7 separate regions of the Homo sapiens genome follow, and all the other regions are linked to region 1. Evidence: promoter capture Hi-C in 16 types of primary human blood cells and fetal thymus (Javierre and others, 2016). All regions are on one chromosome and are shown on one strand. Each heading gives the region's core, a stretch centred on a gene start or on the middle of the fragment in contact. The rest is flanking DNA. Distances are from core to core; before and after follow the strand shown.

Evidence for each region. The method cuts DNA at HindIII sites, captures the fragments that hold promoters and counts their contacts. A CHiCAGO score of 5 or more calls a contact.
Region 2: a contact is called between a fragment that was not itself captured here and the fragment with the promoter of EXT1 in region 1, in 7 of 17 cell types (naive CD8 T cells, total B cells, total CD4 T cells and 4 more). The highest score is 14.3, in naive CD8 T cells.
Region 3: a fragment that was not itself captured here is called in contact with the fragment with the promoter of EXT1 in region 1 in 8 of 17 cell types (total CD8 T cells, naive CD8 T cells, naive CD4 T cells and 5 more); the score reaches 8.0 in total CD8 T cells.
Region 4: a contact is called between a fragment that was not itself captured here and the fragment with the promoter of EXT1 in region 1, in 10 of 17 cell types (naive CD8 T cells, total CD4 T cells, monocytes and 7 more). The highest score is 19.8, in naive CD8 T cells.
Region 5: a fragment that was not itself captured here is called in contact with the fragment with the promoter of EXT1 in region 1 in 13 of 17 cell types (naive CD8 T cells, total CD8 T cells, naive CD4 T cells and 10 more); the score reaches 13.3 in naive CD8 T cells.
Region 6: a fragment that was not itself captured here is called in contact with the fragment with the promoter of EXT1 in region 1 in 7 of 17 cell types (naive CD4 T cells, monocytes, naive B cells and 4 more); the score reaches 6.9 in naive CD4 T cells.
Region 7: a contact is called between a fragment that was not itself captured here and the fragment with the promoter of EXT1 in region 1, in 1 of 17 cell types (total B cells). The highest score is 5.4, in total B cells.

Annotation. Positions count from the first base shown.
Region 1 is chr8:118,110,559-118,113,104 of GRCh38, forward strand. It overlaps EXT1 (exostosin glycosyltransferase 1), which reads right to left and starts at 1,268. Exons shown (of 11, transcript NM_000127.3): 1 at 1-1,268. The coding sequence starts at 488. RefSeq lists silencers at 1,121-1,210, 1,311-1,690. The HindIII fragment of the contact is 5,337 bases long and covers 1-2,061 here.
Region 2 is chr8:117,449,432-117,451,977 of GRCh38, forward strand. The region is part of intron 3 of LOC105375716 (a long non-coding RNA gene); the gene reads right to left. Among named protein-coding and RNA genes, the nearest start is that of MED30, 70 kb to the right of the region's middle. The HindIII fragment of the contact is 7,419 bases long and covers 1-2,546 here.
Region 3 is chr8:117,494,310-117,496,855 of GRCh38, forward strand. The region is part of intron 2 of LOC105375716 (a long non-coding RNA gene); the gene reads right to left. Among named protein-coding and RNA genes, the nearest start is that of MED30, 25 kb to the right of the region's middle. The HindIII fragment of the contact is 539 bases long and covers 994-1,532 here.
Region 4 is chr8:117,510,504-117,513,049 of GRCh38, forward strand. All of the region lies in intron 2 of LOC105375716 (a long non-coding RNA gene), which reads right to left. Among named protein-coding and RNA genes, the nearest start is that of MED30, 8.9 kb to the right of the region's middle. The HindIII fragment of the contact is 1,127 bases long and covers 700-1,826 here.
Region 5 is chr8:117,529,173-117,531,718 of GRCh38, forward strand. It overlaps MED30 (mediator complex subunit 30), which reads left to right. Exons shown (of 4, transcript NM_080651.4): 3 at 1,551-1,655. Among named protein-coding and RNA genes, the nearest start is that of MED30, 9.7 kb to the left of the region's middle. The HindIII fragment of the contact is 1,596 bases long and covers 478-2,073 here.
Region 6 is chr8:117,545,524-117,548,069 of GRCh38, forward strand. No RefSeq gene overlaps it. Among named protein-coding and RNA genes, the nearest start is that of MED30, 26 kb to the left of the region's middle. The HindIII fragment of the contact is 340 bases long and covers 1,109-1,448 here.
Region 7 is chr8:117,563,286-117,565,831 of GRCh38, forward strand. No RefSeq gene overlaps it. Among named protein-coding and RNA genes, the nearest start is that of MED30, 44 kb to the left of the region's middle. The HindIII fragment of the contact is 1,266 bases long and covers 651-1,916 here.

The sequences.
Region 1 (2,546 bases), core at 18-2,517:
CTGTCTAAAGTATCCAGACTCAGGACAAAGAGGCACGCCTGGCTGGGGTCCGAGGTGTAGAACCTGGAGCCCTCGATGGCCGCTAGAATGTTTTGGTAACTTTCGGCGATTTTCTCCCCTTTTTGCTGTGGGTATACGTAGACTTTGAAGCCGTTTTTCTTGCAAAGGGTGAAATCGAAGCAGGACTCCATGCGGCACTTCTTGCCTTTGTAGATGCTGGAGTTGGCATCTCGCTTCTGCCGGGGGGAAATGTGCACGCTGGAATCCTCGTTTTCCAATTGATCCCAAGGAACGAAGGGGCGCAGAGCGTCCGGGAAGCGGGGCCAGAAATGATCCGGACTGGGGTGGTGCAAGCCATTCCTACCGCTGTGTTCTTCTCTCCGGCTGTGGCTCCTCGATGCCCTAAACTGCAAGCCTCCGAAATAAAACAAAAGGGCGAGACAAGAGCCAGCTGAGAGCAGGATGAAATAGCGTTTTTTGGCCTGCATGTGTCCTGCCTGGGTCAAGAGGATTGTAAATAAACACAAGAATCACCCAAGTTTCCCAATCAACACTTTCAGCTCCAGTCCGCCATCTTCCCGCCTGTAAAGACTTCAAACTCTCCGCTCCCACCTTCTCTGGATGCCTTTCCCCAAGCCGTGGACTGATCCAGCGCATGTGGGCGATTTCTTTAACTTTCTCCCCTTCGGTCTTTCATCTTTGGGTTGCACAATGCACGGGAGAGAGCGGGGCTGAATATCTCGCACCCAGGGCGGGCGAGCAGCGGACTGTAATTTTCTTGCATGCAACAAGACGGAGGAAAAGAAAGAGAGAGGGGAGAAAAAAAAAGCTCCCGATACCCAATCAATGGCAAGACGAAGTGATTGCCTTGCCTCTCGGATTCCTCTCGGCAGCGTGGAAAATGAGCCCCGGGAAGGCAACTTCAACTCATCCACCACTCTCCGTGCAGAGCACTCCGGTTCCAACAAGTCAGCCGATCCCGGGTTCAGCCGGCTAGTGCATCTTGCAGCTGGGGCGCCGTAACCTCACAAATCCCTGCATCTCTCTTTATTCCCTTCTGCAGCGGCTCCAAGACTCCGGCGGTGTTTACTCCTGCGCTCGCGGGGCCGGCCCCCGGGACGCGCGGCGGCCCGGCTGGAGGCGGCGGCGGCGGCGGCGCTGGGTGGCGGCGGCGGCGCGTCCTCCCCGCGGGCAGTGCCGGCCCCGAGCAGCGCTTCGCAGGCCCCCGCGCGAACGCTGCCGACCGCCGCGTTCGGTCGCCGAATGTTACCCGGTTCTGAATGTTACACTTACACATTCCATTCCCGACACGACAGCGCTGACCTCATCCATCCACGCAGCCCGCGCTGCCATTGGCCGAGCGTCACGTCCGGGGGGGGCGGTGCTTCCGCTGCGCCCATTCATAACCCCCGGCCGCGGGCCGAGGCGCCGGCGCGGCGTTGGGGGCGTAGGGGGCGCAGGGAGCCGGGGCTCCCGGGTTGCAAGCTGCCGGCGGGCTGCCGGGCAGGTGGAGCGCGGGACGGCCCGGTGCGAGCCCCGCGGCCCCTCGGCGCGCCCAGGCCCGGATCTCGGCCTGCGCCGTGCCGGGGACCAGAGGCGCCTGCGGAAACGCGGCGGCCGGGGAAGGAGGCACCGGCAGGGGCCCCGTGCCGCGCGGCCCCGGGCGCCCTGGAGAATCTGGCCTCCTGGGCTGCCTGCCGGAACGCCTAGAGAAAGATGCTTTGAAGGAGGGAAGCAGGGAGGAAAGGAAGACTTCATAGAAAGCGACCGCCGATCCGAAAGCTGCCTCTCCCAGCCCTCCTTCCACTCTCCGAGACCCAGTATTTCAATTTTCTGCTAAGCATTAAAACAATCTCCCCTTACTCCTCCTCTACATAGCACATTTTTTTAAACCAAAGAAACACCCCAATGCCCAACAATAAAGAGGAATTATTACAATCAAGAGGAATTGTTGCAATTCTTCATGCCTGCCTCTGTGCTAAGAGTGTAAGACGGCTATCCTAAATCCTCATTATCTACTTAGGCCGCCTTGCCTGAGCCCCCTCTGTCTATTATGAAGAAAGCTTCCAAGAGATCCAATCACAGAGAAAAAATAAATTTTCTAATGGCTGCAGGGAAACCAGTTAATTTAAGCTTGCCCCAGTCCTCAAAGTGATGTTATTCTCTTGGTGGTGGTGGTGGTGGTGGTGGTGTTAAAGATATCTCTTAAGGACATATGACTGGTAGAATTGCCAACTGTCCCAGCTATAGAAGGAACACTTGCATCAGGAAAACTACCTTATGTACAATTAGTGCCAAATAGTTGGTCCTTCCCTCACTGACCTCCCACTCCTTGGCCCAAGCTCCTGCCACTCCCAGTGGAAGAACTTCATTAGATAACTCAGGTAACCGAGGAGCAGTCCCGCTAAAGATCCTCCAGGTCCACAAAGATGTGCTAGGCTCCCAAACAGTATCTCTGGTCAAAGTCAAACTCCCTGGCCTCAGATCCTGAACACTGCTTTACAGAAAACACCTCCCACCCTCTGGCCTAGCTAAAGTCTCAGGGC
Region 2 (2,546 bases), core at 22-2,521, 660 kb before region 1:
CAGAAGCCAGATCTCAGCCCCAAAGACGACCAGGATGATGCAGACATCACTGCCATTACCACTCCCACAACTGCACAATCATATATACACACATGAACTATCTCTGCCACTGTCCATAGGAAGGAGTTTGAGCCAACTTTCTTTGAAACTCAAAGGTCAACTCGCATCTCGGCCACACATACAATATGTAGTTAATACACAGTATTTATGAAAGAGCTTTAGAAATATATTTAAATCTATCCAAATACGAGATGTAACATAGACGTTAGTATTTGTGTATTTTGATGGTAGCATTTGGTTGTTATCCAATTAAATTCCCTTAATTGTTTTGAATTTTACTAGGCAGCAGAGTGGGCAGACATATGGGAAAGAGGGAGGTAGAAAGGGACATACAGTACTCAACCCTAAAAGGAGCTTCCAGTTCGACCCTAAAGTATTATAAATGGAAGCATCCTGCACTGCAACTTTCTACCTTCACCCTAATGTAAAAATTTATGTCCTAAGATTTGGTGAAGGAACCAAACATGTATGACTCAGTTGCTACCTCATTCTTTTTATTCATACTCCCACCAATTGTGCATCCCTGAGGTGAGGACACATAGATCGAAATCAAGGTATTTTGTCTAGATGTTGGTCTGCATGCCTGTTTCTCTCAGTCACCACTAATAGACTTCAACATTTGTGAGGCAATAATTCTAGATAAGTGATTCTACTTGGCAGATCCAACTTCTTCAGCTATGCCTAGGGATAAAGGTAGCAGAAAGCCCAGTGGTGACCATAGATCCCAGTAAATTTCCCAATCTATATTTACAAATAATTCTAGTATTTTGATCCCTGTTCATCTTACTCCTAGCAATTTTCTCATAGATTTCAGACTTGAGCTCGGCTCAGGAGATGGATGATTAATTAACACCCCAAAACCCCAACAATATAATTAATTTCCAGTGAAAATTATACTATAACTAAAACAGAAGTAACCTGGTAATTGATGGTGATTGCCTTGCAGCTATGTCTTGGCTGCCATCTCTAAAAAGGAAGCCAATTTTCCAAAAATGCATGTTAAATGCTGTACACAATTGATTCTGCATGTCATTAAGCCAAGGAGGATATTACTTACAGGGTTATTCATTTTTACTTTACTTTAATTAATGTTTAAAACCTCTAAATCACTTATAACAATTAAGACAATTAACTTTGGGGGGAACTATGGATTTGGAACCTCGTAACACTCTTTAAAATCGCTGATATTTTCTTCTTTTACTAGAATTCACTTTGATAAACCACAAGTCAGAATAGCAATGTATTTGGCTCCCTTTTTAAACACACTGTGTATGTTCCTATTGAATTTTAGTTTCCTTTTTAGAGTTCTGGGGAAAAAAAGAAATAGTAACCTTTCCACATATTTTACAAGGCTGAAATATTTTGATGGATCCTGATTACTGAAAGATTTTAAGTTCTATATTTCACATCAAATATACTTCTTTTTTATTGAGTGTTCTAATAAATAACAAAAAAAGCCTGGATCATGTGGTATTTTAGTTAGTAGAAGCACTACATATATAGATGTGTGTGTGTGTGTGTGTGTGTGTGTGTGTACTGTATCTAATTATAGTCTCTGAATAGGATCAAAATATTTCACATATTGGCATATTTATTTAAAATATCTTTCTAAAATATATGGAATAGAAAATAGTATAATAAATACCAGTATTTATTAAGCACTTACATTTCAGGTGCTTCATAGAATATGGCTCATTTAATCTTCATGATGGCCTTATCACACTGTTTTCAAACTTTACACAAGGGTCCTCTGTGCAACTTGGTAAAAAGGCAGATCCCCAGAGTCAATTCAGTCAGGATTCTGATTAAGTAGATCTGGAAGGATTTAAAGGATCTCTATTTTTAACAAACCTCTCCAGATTCCTCTGGTATAGGTAGCCTGTGGAACACACTGTAAGTAACATTGCCTATTAAATATTGCCTAGGCCGGGCGCGGTGGCTCACACCTGTAATCCCAGCACTTTGGGAGGCCGAGGCGGGTGGATCATGAGGTCAGGAGATCGAGACCATCCTGGCTAACAAGGTGAAACCCCGTCTCTACTAAAAAAAAAATACAAAAAAAATTAGCCGGGCGCGGTGGCGGGCGCCTGTAGTCCCAGCTACTCGGGAGGCTGAGGCAGGAGAATGGCGTGAACCCGGGAAGCGGAGCTTGCAGTGAGCCGAGATTGCGCCACTGCAGTCCGCAGTCCGGCCTGGGCGACAGAGCGAGACTCCGTCTCAAAAAAAAAAAAAAAAAAAAAAAAAAATATTGCCTAATAAAATTTGACCATAATCTTAGATGAATAAACTAAGAATCAAGAAACTTAAATATCTTGTTTAAGTTCCCCTATTCATGAAAAATAATGCTTTTGCTCTTGAGAGTAAGCATTTAAGTCTCATGAGGAATGGAGAAAAGGTTAAGAAATAGGAACAAAAACATGAGACAGTGGCATTGGAAAGTGATGACTATAAAAATAAGGAATAGTGGTGAGGTCTTTGGTTCTGGT
Region 3 (2,546 bases), core at 13-2,512, 620 kb before region 1:
GCCTCCAGCTTTGTTCTTTTTGTTTAGGATTGCCTTGGCTATTTGGGCTCTTTTTCGGTTCCATATGAATTTTTAAATAATTTTTTCTAATTCTATGAAGAATGTCATTGTTAGTTTGATAGGAATAGCATTGAATCTGTAAATTGCTTTGGGAAATATGGCTGTTTTAATGATATTGACTCTTCTTATCCATGAGCATGGGATGTTTTTCCATTCGTTTGTGTCTTCTCTGATTTTTTTGAGCAGGGTTTTGTAGTTCTCATTGTAGAGATCTTTCACTTCCCTGGTTAGCTGTATTCCTAGGCATTTTATTCTTTTTGTGGCAATTGTGAATGGGATTGTGTTCCTGATCTGGCTCTCAGCTTGGCTGCTTTTGGTGTAGAGAAATGCTACTGATTTTTGTATATTGAATTTTTTATCCTGAAATTTTGCTGAAATTTTTTATCAGCTAAAGGAGCTTTTGGGTCAAGACTATGGGGATTTCTAGATATAGAATCATGTCATGTGAAAACAGGGATAGTTTAACTTCCTCTCAACCTATTTGGATGGCACTTACTTCTTTCTCTTGCCTAATTGCTCTGTCTATATTTCTCTCACCCTTTACTTTGTGTCTATAGGTGTCATTATACGTAAGATGGGTTTCTTGAAGGTGGCAGACAAATGGACTTTGTTTTTGCTTTTTTTATATCCAACTTGCCACTCTGTGCCTTTTAAGTAGGTCAGTTAGATCACTTACATTCAAGGTTTACATTTATATGTGAAATTTTGATGCTATCATGAAGTTGTTAGCTGGTTGCTTTGCAGTTTCTATTGTGGTTGCTTTATAGTGTCTATGAGCTCTGTACTTAGGTGTGTTTTTGTGGTAGGAGGTATTGTTCTTTCACTTCCATGTTTAGAAACCCTTAAAGATCTCTTGCAAGGTTGGCCAAGTGGTAGCCAACTCCCTTAGTGTTTGGTTGTTTGGAGAACATTTTATTTTCCCTTCAGTTATGAAGCTTAGTGTGGCAGGATTTGAAATTCTTGGTTGGAATTTCTTTTTTTAAAAAATGCTTAAAAAAGGCCTCCAGTCTCTCTTGGCTTATAAGGTTTCTGCTAAGAAGTCTGCTGTAAGCCTAATGGGGTTCCCTTTGTACATAATGTGACCTTTTTCTCTAGCTGCCTTTAAGATTTTTTCTTAGTTTTGATCTTGGACAGTTTGGTGACTATATGCCTTAATGATGTTCATTTTTTATAGTATCTCACAGGAGTTCTCTAGATTTCTCATATCCAGATGTCTCCCTCTAGCAAGATTAGAGCAATTTTCTTGAATTATTTTATTAAATATATTTTCCAGGTTGTTTTATTTCTCTTCATTTCTCTCAGAAATGCCAGCATTTGAAGGTTTGGTCACTTTACATACTCCCATATTTCTCAAAGACTTTACTCATTTTTTAAAATTTGTTTTTTCTTTATTTTTTTCTGACTGGGTTAGTTCAAAAGATCAGTTTTCAAGCTCTGAAATTCTTTTTCTGCTTGTTCCAGTTTATTGATAAAGCTTTCTTTGTATTTTCAAGTCCTTTAAGTGAGATTTTCAATTCCAGAAGCTCTGATTGAGTTCTTTTTAAGATGTTTATCTCTTCCTTCATTTCCTGGATTGTTTTAGAAGCTTCTTTGTGTGGATTTTCAACATTTTCCTTGATCTTGTTGAGCATTCTTTCAATCCATGCTTGTCTTGTTTACCTGTTATTTCTGAGCTTCTATTTTGGTTAGGAACCATTGCTGGAGAGTTAGTGCAATCCTTTGGTGGTGATGTCCCTGCATTCAGATTTTTCATGGTGCCTGAATTCTTGCTCTGGTACCTTCTCCTCTGGAGATGCTGGCACTAATTTTTGTAATTATTTTTTGTGCATAGGATTTCTGCACAGGAAGGGTAGGGAAACCCAATCTGCTAACCCATGTGAGTGGTTGCTCCAAATGCCTGGAGATCTGCCTGTGTGTAAAGCAGAGAGGGCCCTACTGCACCACAATCTATGTCCATGAAGGGTAGAATGGCTCAGGCTGCTGGTCCAGGCTGTCTTAATGCTTTATTTCTGCCTGTGGGTAGAGTAGAGGGCCCCACCGTACCAAAATCTCAGGGGAGCAGGCTGGAACTCCCAGCAATGACACACACAGACCCATTCCAGATTTCCAAGTTGGACCTGGCTATAAGTCTCATCATCTAGAAGAAACTGCTGCTATAGAAATTCTCCTCCCACCCCAGGCTTGTGATGGGGGATAGCACAATTCCAGCACCTACTGCTAAGGCACCTTCCACAGTTCTGGCTGTGGAGGCCCCTGTGCTCCAGAGCAGGAACTTCAATCTGTGGCCCAAGACTTAAATGATTGTGCATCCACACTGCCTGTTGCCAAAGAACGGCTTTGTATCTTCAAGTCTTTTTGAATGAGATTTTTAAAAGATCAAACAGGAATATAAAAACCAAAAGAATTAAGGTTCCCTCCGCCTTCACTACTGACTAGTATTAGAGTATGAGAAAGGCAAACTATACAAATAGAATATTCTAGAAGTA
Region 4 (2,546 bases), core at 13-2,512, 600 kb before region 1:
TATATGTCAAAACTTATCAAATCGTTCACTTTAAATATGTGCAGTTTTATCGTATATGAATTTTACCTTAACAAGAAATAAAACATTAAGATAATAAATGCTACTTGTGTTTTAAAAAGAAGATATGGTACCTACTTTCAAAGATTTTTATAATCTGGAAGTAGAGTGAGATGAAACAATAATTTAAAAAAAATTAAGGGGTCTGGCATGGTGGCTTATCCCAGTAATCCCAGCACTTTGGGAGGCCAAAGTGGGAGAATTGCTTGAGGCCATGGAATTCAGGGCCCATCTGGGCAACATAGTGAAAATCCTCTGTCTCTACAAAAATAAAAAATAAAAAAATTACCTGAGTGTGGTGGTGGACACCTGTGGTCCCAGCTACTCAGGAGGCTGAGGTGGGAGGATTGCTTGAGTGGGAAGTCAAAGCTGCATTAAGCTGACTGTACCACTGCACTCCAGCCTGGGTGACTAAGACCTTCTCTCAAAAAATAAAATAGGGGTAAGATACAATAGCTCTCAAAAGTGAAAATAAATACAATAATTTTGAGTTTGGAAATGTAAGCTAATAAATCTTAAAGTCTAGTTTTTGAGTGAATAAGCAAGGCTTACTCACCATTTATGACTTTGTTCATACAAAGGTAACCTGTGAATCTGATTATTAGCGTTCAAAGAACAAAGGAGGTGCTAGTTGTGTGTTTAAGCTTTAATTGAAATACACATTAGAACTATGTTTGAAAATAGACCTTAAAAATTCTCCAGTGCTTATTCCAGAGCTCTGCATCTGTGGACCTTCCATTTTTGATCATTAGGACAATGTTGGTAGAAACCACAGTTTTTTCCTCTAAAGACATTTTTTCCTAATGTACAAGCCTCAAAAAGTAAGTCTCCAGGATTTCATGGCACCTTGAGCCTCCATCTTTTGGCTCAGTCACTGAAAGGGACTTTGTTATAGGCCACCAAGCGTTTATCAAATATTCATGACAGGTCTGGCACTGTGCTAGGCATTTTGGAGAAGAAAGGGGTACATGGAAAGAGTCACTATACCTGCTTCCATTCATGTAAAAATTAACTTTGAATACATACAACAGTTAAGGAATAACAGCAGTATAATAAATACCTTGTAGTGGTTAAACTATAAATGCAATTAAAAGAGCAAAGAAGGCAACACTGAGACAGAGAAATAAGCAAAGGGTCTTGAGTCTGGACTTGAGAAAGGTAGAGGGAAATCAGCAGAAGTGGGAGAAAAATTCACTATCATTCATTCATTCAATGAATATTAAGAATCTACCATGCCGAGGCACTGAGCAAAATACTAAGAACACAGTAGTGAACAAAAATGCACTAATCCTTGCCCCCATAGGTTGCTCCCAGCCTACTAGAAGAAGCAGTTATTGAATAAACAGATATGCAAATAAAAATACAATTGCAAAAGATTATTAGTGCTGTGAAGGAACAGTGCACAGGTGGAAAAGATGCAAGAGCCGAGGAGAGAGGACATGAGCAGAACACACAAAGCCCCCAGGGGATGTTCAGGATTCCAGATTTTAAGTGCAACATTGTGACCAGCTGGTGAAGAAAGCATGCCCTCTAAGGTCAAATAAAGTTGACTAAATAAAGGGTACACTAGGCTGCTACCGAAGAACAACTTCACTCCAGTCTTCTCTTCTAATGCCACCAGCCTCTCTCCCAGATCCTGCTTCTCTTTGGGTTCACTTCTCCTCTGGCACCTTTCCCTTTGTCTAATTCACTCTTTATTTCCCTATTCAAAGTCCTAAGAAAGACAATCTGATTGGTCCAGGTTATTACCTTCAATCCTGCTTGGGTAAAGCTTTTTGTACCAGAGCAGGTTACACATCACTGGCCAGCCTAGAAATTGGTTGCCCTTGGGCCAGATGGTCATCCTGATCCAATCAGCTATGACCAGGAGTCATATGGCACAGAAATGGCTAAGGAAGAAGAACCTAAGATGGAAATGAAGATGGCAAATACCATTGCCAATGTTATTTGTCAACCTCCTTAATACAGCAAAAAAAAAAAAAAAAAAAAAAAGGTTGCTCTAGTAGAGTGAAAGTAAGCAATAGAAGGCTTTGAAAATCAGAGAACTGAGCCTTTTTATGGAGACCACTGAAATCCTACAAAGGAAATATGCAGAGACTGACATGATGAAAGCAGAATTTCAGGAAGACAAGTGAATTTGTCTTCATTTTCTATTTCTTTTTCTATTAAACCATACATTGAGATTTAAAGGTCATAATATTTTCTCTTACCCTCTCAGATCAAATGTGATGAGAAATCGGTACAGAGAGAGATGAAGGTAAAATAGCAGCCTAATTATTGGTAAAGCTAGATTACAGAATATGGCTTAGCATTGACTTCCCCTTGAATTGACTGCCAATCCCTGGCAGGGCAGGGACAGAGCCCAAGAAGTGGAGGAGAAGGCACTATTCTGTTCAGAGGGCCAGTCTTAGGAAGAGAGAGAAAAGGTGGGGGCAGCCCAGACCCCAACTCACCACACAATCACCTCTTTGATCTTGGGAAAGAGTGAA
Region 5 (2,546 bases), core at 26-2,525, 580 kb before region 1:
TTACAGATAAAATATTATTTTTATTATTATTAATTTGGATTTTATATTTAGCCCAGTGGAATCACTATATTTTAAAAATATATTCTCTAAATTTAATCTTGGGTCATACCTATTTAGTTAATTAGGCATATATTTCTATAAGTCACCCTTTCCTGTTGACAAATTATATCTCTGCCACCAAAGGAAGCTGGTAAGAGATGACCAGAGAAAAATTAAACTGCAAAAATGCCTAAAAAGAAGGGGTCAGAGATGTGGGAGAAAGATCAGAAATGTGGCCTACATCGTCAGATGCTACAGAGAAGTCAGGGAAAATAAGGAATGAAAACTGTCCAGTAGATTTTGCTAGATGAAAATTGTTGGTATATTTGAGTAGAGCTTCAGTGAAATGATAGCAGCGTGAAGTCTGATCCTAGTCGGGTGAAGATTAAACAGGAAATAAGAAGCTGGAGCCGGCAAGTGGATATCAGTCTTTCAAGAAGCTTTGAAAAAAATAAGAGAGGAAAGCAGTAGATGGAAGGAGAGATGGAATCGAAGGTTTGCAGGAGGAAGAGGAGCTTCCCTCCAAATAGAAGAGATAGGAACATGTTTGAATAATAAAGGAAGAAAGCTGTAGGGAGAGGTTGAGAGAAAGGTGTATAAATAATGAAGACAGGAGGGCAGAGTAATCAGGGCACAGGAATGGAGACTAATCGTCTTCAGGAGGAAGGACAGCTCTGCATTGAGACAGATGAAAGAAAGAAAAGGAGAATGTAGACATGGGTGAGTTTATATATATCCCAAGAATTTGAAGAAGTTTTATCAGGTGAATCCTAGTTTTACCAGTCATTTACCTTTAGCCTATTCTTGCATTGGTAATACACGATGGTAAAGGCTAGGTGATTCCTGAAGTCTGCCACACTTATGCGGTAAATTCCATCACTAACCATGCATACTTAATTACGATTCTGCTAGAAGTTTCATTGCTATATAAATTTGTTTCTCCTACAAAGAAAAAGTTCTCACAACTGCGAAAACTTAAGACATCTAGAAGTTTGCATAGACTCTGAAGTTTTAGATTGCAAGTTAATGACAATTATATAATACAGATCCGTGAAGTTCTTTTCTTTTTATTGCAGATGAAGGAAAGCCTGTTTTATCTATCTCAATAGACTACAAATCTCTTAGGGGCAGGAATCACATCTTGTTTGGCATTACTTTTATAGTGTTTCATAATTAAATATTTGCTGATTGAGTAGGGTTTTTTTAAATTTTTATTTTATTTTATTTTATTTTTTACTTCTCCCATCTTCCTGCTGGAAGTATTGTTTAGTTGTACATGACAACCAATGTTATAAAGGCTGTTTTGCAAAAGAAACCTGAAAGGGTAATGCATAGAATGCATTGAAATGGTCAACTATTAAAGCTCTTATTTCAGGCCATCACCTGAATTGAAATTATTTTTATACAAATAAAAGTATAAAAATTGACCTTAATCTGATATATTCTCTATACAAGTGATTAGAAAACTTGAATTATATTTTTGCCTTTTAATTTTTGTTAATCATTCCCAGCAACTTATTCCATATGTGGAAGAAGATGGCTCAAAGAATGATGATCGGGCTGGCCCACCTCGTTTTGCTAGTGAAGAGAGGCGAGAAATTGCTGAAGTAAATAAAGTGAGTTGTTAGTTTTTACATTTTATGTTTTAGAGTTATTGATAAAAATTACTAGGGAGTCTGATGTAACTCCAAAACATAATTTGAATTATCAAATTACATGAAGTTGTTTCTGCGGCAAACTTCACCTATTTAGAATACAGCCAAGAAATGAAAGGTAAGCAGAAATGCTGTCTGAATAGTCAGAAGAGAAATTGCAAAATTCATTCGATAAAGCTCTTAGAAGAGCTCCTTAGACACTTAGTCACAATCCATTTACTTTTTTCTTTTCTGGGCAGAATTCTACCTTTCTAGCTTATAGCATATTTGGAGCAGCAAATGATAAAAATTTACAAATATGAAATGTGAATGTCTCAACACCTGAATAAAAAATTTAGAGAACTATCCCAGCATTATTATCTACTCCAACCCCACAAAAAGCTTGTAACTGGAATGTATTTATCGCTGAATACTTTCAAAAGTTCAGAAGATAATGTTCAAATAGTTCTCGTGAAACAGAGAGAAATAGGGAAAGGTGTCAGTTCATTCTGGGGATGGAAATGTGGCCCCAGCTTAGCAAAACCTACCAGAGATAGCACAGTGAATAAAACTTTCAGCATCACTCTTTCACTGACAAATATAGATTGCCCCTTCCTGAAATTCTTAATTCTAATTAATAGAACTCATCAGTGTATTAATAATCCACCACTGCCAAAGAGAGTCTTCTGAGGTATATGAAGATTTTATAGTTCAGTTTGTATGTATAATACATGATGTCAGTAAACTACCTTGAAAAAAGATTTTCTCACATGTCTAAAAGACATCTGATAAAATTCAATACTGTTGCTGATTCAAAGGACACTTAAAACTATTAGCAAGACAGTGTGTTTTTTTTTTAAATCTTTTTCTTTT
Region 6 (2,546 bases), core at 29-2,528, 570 kb before region 1:
GAATTATTTTTTTCCTTGACCTTTAAAGGATTTTGTAACAAGTGTTTTGCACCAGTCTTGTGTCCTTTCTTGCTTGTTTACAACTGTTTCTGTATTTGTGGGGGAGAGGGAGAGGAGTCGGTGGGAGAAGGGTCTTTTTCTTTCAGATGGTGGAGGGCAATACCATCTTAGGGCATTCTCACCCTCTCCTATGGCTGAGTCCTGAATAGAGGGTGAGAATATGGACCCTGGAGACAAACTGCCTGAATCCCAGCTCTGCCGCTTACCAGCTGTTCCTTTGAGCAGAATTTTCGAGTTGCTTATGACTTGATTTTCTCTTCTATAAAAGGGACAAATAGTATGTTCTTACACGAGTTTTATTTTTAAACAGCTCTGAGGAACATTTATATTTACAAGAGCCAAATACTTTAAAAATCTACCAATGCCTTACCTAGCAAACAACTCCATCATTTGCAAGGATGAAATGAGATAAGGAGCTAGCATTGTGCCTCCACGAAAAGGGAAGGGGATCTGTAGATGTCAGATATCATCCCTACTTGGATAAAAACTAAAGATTTAAAAAATAAATGCATAATCATTTATTTCCCCCTCCCCATAAGCCAGCATTTTCTCCAACTGCTTTCATCAAAGCAGTGGAATTTCAACAACTCAGTTAGAAAATGGCATCACCACTGCCATTTTCTCTTTTAGCAAAGCCCTAACTCCCTGCCCTGCCCAGAGCTATTTTGATCCTATCTGTCTCCTTCTATCATTTGTCTTATCCATCTCCAATTTCTGTCAGTCTTTATTTCAAATATGTTTTATAAATGTGTATCTCCCTTGGACACGCCAAGTGCAATAACTGCCTTTCAGGATGCTTCACCTCTCACCTCAATCACATGTGTGGACAAAGCCAGCCTTGGCATGACCTCTTCTTCAGCTTGCATACCCTACTGTCCCCTCTTTGTTCTTTCTGGCTAAATCCTGAACCATCCTTCAAGATTCATCTCAAAGCCCACTGCTGCCCCCGAGATCTTTCCACACTGATTTCTGTCATCCCTGAACTCTGAGGGCTCATGGATTCATCACATCTGCCCTCTGCTCTAATGTTTTAGTTTCATGTGTGTGAAGCTTTGTCTGCCCAAGTAAATGAAAAGCTCCTGGGAATGGGATTAATTCTCCCTCTTTCCCCACCCAGCACAATGCAATGACACTCACAGATATCCAGTTATAGTGGTTGAGCTTGCTTGATTCAGAATTCATTGTAGTTTGCAAGTTCCACAGATTAGGAAATAATCTTTCTACTTTTTATATTGCCTCAAGCAGTTACTTCTTTTTTAAAAACAACATTTGATGCAAGAAATAATACTTCTGAAGTCAAAATAATTATATGTTAATGATTAAATTTATATATGAATGCTTTCATTGTGGTACCCATAAAATTAAAGATAAAGCAAAATCTTAGAATAAGCTTCTATACTATGATATCAAGAGTAGTCCAAACTCACTGATTGACAGCCTGTTATGAAGAGGTAGTAATATACAGTATATCACTAAATCATGAAAACAATCATATGAGATAGATATTACATTATTGCCTTTTTACAGATCAGGAACCTTAAGCACATGATAGAAAAAAGGGTGAAGACTGAAAGCAAGGCACATGTTTTTCCCTGGAGAAGTTATAGAGAATCAACAAAGGTGGTAGATTTTTTTTTTCTGCCAGACCCTGTTCTAAATGTAGTAACTCATTTAATCCACACAACTTCCTAAAATAAAAACTATAGTATTCCTTCCATTTTACAGACCAGAAAACATAAACCCAGAGAGGTTAAATCACTTGCCCAAGGCCACACAGCTAGAAAGTAGCTGAACTGGCTTCAAATCTCAGTCAGTCTGGCTCCAAGAGTACTGGTGCCTTTTTTTTTTTTCTTTTTTTGAGACAAGGTCTTGCTCTGTCACCCAGATTGGAGTGCAGTGGCACAATCATGGCTCACTACAGCCTCAACCTCCCAGGCTCAAGCAAACCTCCCACTTCAGCCCCCCAGTTATTCAGGTGCAGCAGCTCACATCTGTAATCCCAAGGAGGCTGAGGTGGGAGGATTTTTTGAGCCCGTGAGTTCAGGACCAGCCTGGGCAATATAAGTGAGACCTCCGTCTCCACAAAAAATAAAGAGTCCTTGTTTTTAACCAATAAACTTACTACACAAGTCAAAAACATGGTTATAACACTGACAGATGTGTGGTATTAAAATCTCAATGTCTCTGAAAGAGTTAGACTCTTCAGACCTTGAACTCCTCCCAGCAATCAGCAAAACCCTTGCCCTAAAAACAACAACAAAAAAAGATAATCATATCTGTGCAGACTTAGCATGGACCTGATTGATAACAAGCACTTGGTAAATGTTAAGTACTCCTGTCCACACCACCGCTACCACCACATGTGCCCTTCTACTATGGCTACATGACCAACACCAGTTAAGAATCATAGCTTCCTGGAACACATGAACAGCATCTTGCTTTTTTTCTCAGAGTCTTTTCTCACAGAACGCTTTATCTTATTTTCT
Region 7 (2,546 bases), core at 34-2,533, 550 kb before region 1:
TAAATTATTTGAGCTCTTCTCTTCTGAAGTTTCACAGCAGCCTAAGGCATTCACCAGGGCCTCTGGAGTAAACAAGGGGGAAGCAGGGCCTGCCTAAGTTCACAATGAAGGAGAGGCAGAAAGGCCTTTCCCTAGGTTCCCTGCAAGAAGATGCTGTCCAGCTGGTGCTCAGGGCTCATGTGTCATTTCAGCACTGGCAGCAGCTGTTCCTCACCAGTCCTGTATAAATCTGGAAACTGGAGAACATTGTCAACCTCTGTCCTGTTGCACTGGTATCTTCTTTCCCCAGTGAGATGCCTTGGAGACTGAAATGTCCCTGTTTGGAAATGTCAACAAAAGAGACTGCTGCTTTGATTTCCTTGTCCTTCTTTTCTGTTAACACTCTGGAGAGTGTGACGCAGCTGATCTCACCTTACAGAGGCTACCTTGAGTGGTCATTCGGAGAAAGTAGAGGTACTGAAGGTGGAGGAGGTGGCTTTCTGGAAGTCAGCAAAGATGACAAAATGCACCAAATGGGAGCTGCCATCAGCCTTGCTCTTTGACCAGCTCTGTCATTTTATAACTTGGGGGTGAATTACAGGTTCGAGTGATAGAGAAGGGGCCATGGCATGTCACCATCTATTTAAAGAGCTGTGAAGACACTGTCAGCAAGCTTTGCCTAACGAGGATGCAGGGATGACCTGCCCTTTATGTTTACTCCTTCAAGATTGAATGTGTGTTGCTGCTTTCCTGCCAGTAAAGGCAACAGTTGCAGTTACATTATTTTTGCAACAAAAGAGTCAACATTTTTCAAAAGTGACACAAATTCACCTTTAACTTTGTTCGAGGAGATTGATTTTTTCTTTCTTTAAAAAATGTTAAAGGTTTAGGTAGTTTGGAAGTTTTTTTAATTTTAGCAGTTTCCAACTCATGCTGAAAGAGTTTGTGGATTTGGTCATTCCGCTAAGCAGTTGCAAATATGCACCTTGCTTAACAACATAGTGGTTATGCTCCTCAAGAGTAGCATTTTACGTTTTACATTTCCAAGTGTAAAAAGATAATGATAACATATTCTCTTCTCCCCCCAAAATTCAATAAGTATAATTGAATATTTAGGCAATATCTTCAGATGCTTTTTATTTTAATACAAATAGCAGTAAAATGTTTATAGTAGAAAACAGCAGTTATATCTCCCACTATCAACAACTTTTGGCTTTCTTAGTTGCTTCTTTCAGAATATACCTCCATAATTTTATAATGTATTTATTCTTATATTTTTTATGTATTGATTTAATAGCATTGACCACTTATACTTATAGGCTGGGCGCAGTGGCTCACATGTATAATCCCAGCAATTTGGGAGGCTGAGGTGGGTGGATCACTTGAGGCCAGGAGGTCGAGACCAGCCTGGGCAACATGGGGAACCCCATCTCTACTAAACATACCAAAATTAGCCGGGTGTGATGGTTCATGCCTGTAATCCCAGCTACTCAGGAGGGTGAGGCATGAGAATCACTTGAATCTAGGAGGTGGAAGTTGCCGTGAGCTGAGATTGCACCACTGCACTCCAGCATGAGCAACAGAGTAAGGTCTGTCTCAAAAAAAGAAAAAGTAGCATAGATGGCAATGTTTGGTGAAGGAAGTCTTCCTGTTAATTCACGCTGCAGTGCCTGAACTTCTTTATCTGATCGTCTTAGAAATTATCAAGAAGATAATTACCCTAATTTGATCATTTTATGCATGTATCAAAACATCACACTGTACCCCATAAATATGTACAATTATTATGTGTCAATTAAAAATACAACAACAAAAAAAAGAAATCCTCAAAACATGGCAGCAACACCTAGCTCTTTGGCTTTGGTACCTTGTCTCTTGATATTCTCGATATTTTTCCTAGAAGTTGATGTCTACAAACACTTAAATGGACCAGAGGAAGCTTCTACCCAAAGGAATCCTCCAAAACATCTCAGTGAAGTATGGACTTCTTCCGATGTCAGAAATAGCTTCAAAATTTAGTTGCTTTGTTAGTATTCAGTTTAATAAATCTTTGATGTTCATAGGAATGTAATCAAAGATCTTCAAGAATTTCCAAATGTAAAAAGATAATGATAACATATTCTCTTCTCCCCCAAAAATTCAATAAGTATAATTGAATATTTAGGCAATATCTTCAGAAGCTTTTTATTTTAGTACAGCATAGTTCACTTTTTAATTTGTCCCAGACTTCTATTTTCTGGATAAGAACCAGTCATCAGTTGCACAGATCTATTCAATATCTTCTTAAAAAAATTTATCCATGCTTCTTATTTTTTAAACCAACTTTGATTTTTATCAAAGTAATGCACAAAATTGTTGAAAAATCAAATAGCAGTAAAAGGTTTATAGTAGAAAATGGTGGTTATATTTCACACTATCAACAACTTTTGGCTCTCTTAATTGTTTCTTTCAGAATGTATCTCCATAATTTTATAATGTATTTATTCTTATTTTTTTTATGTGTTGGTTTCATAGCATTGACCACTTATACTTTGTTAGATAAAGGTTAGCTTTCCTCCTCACATACA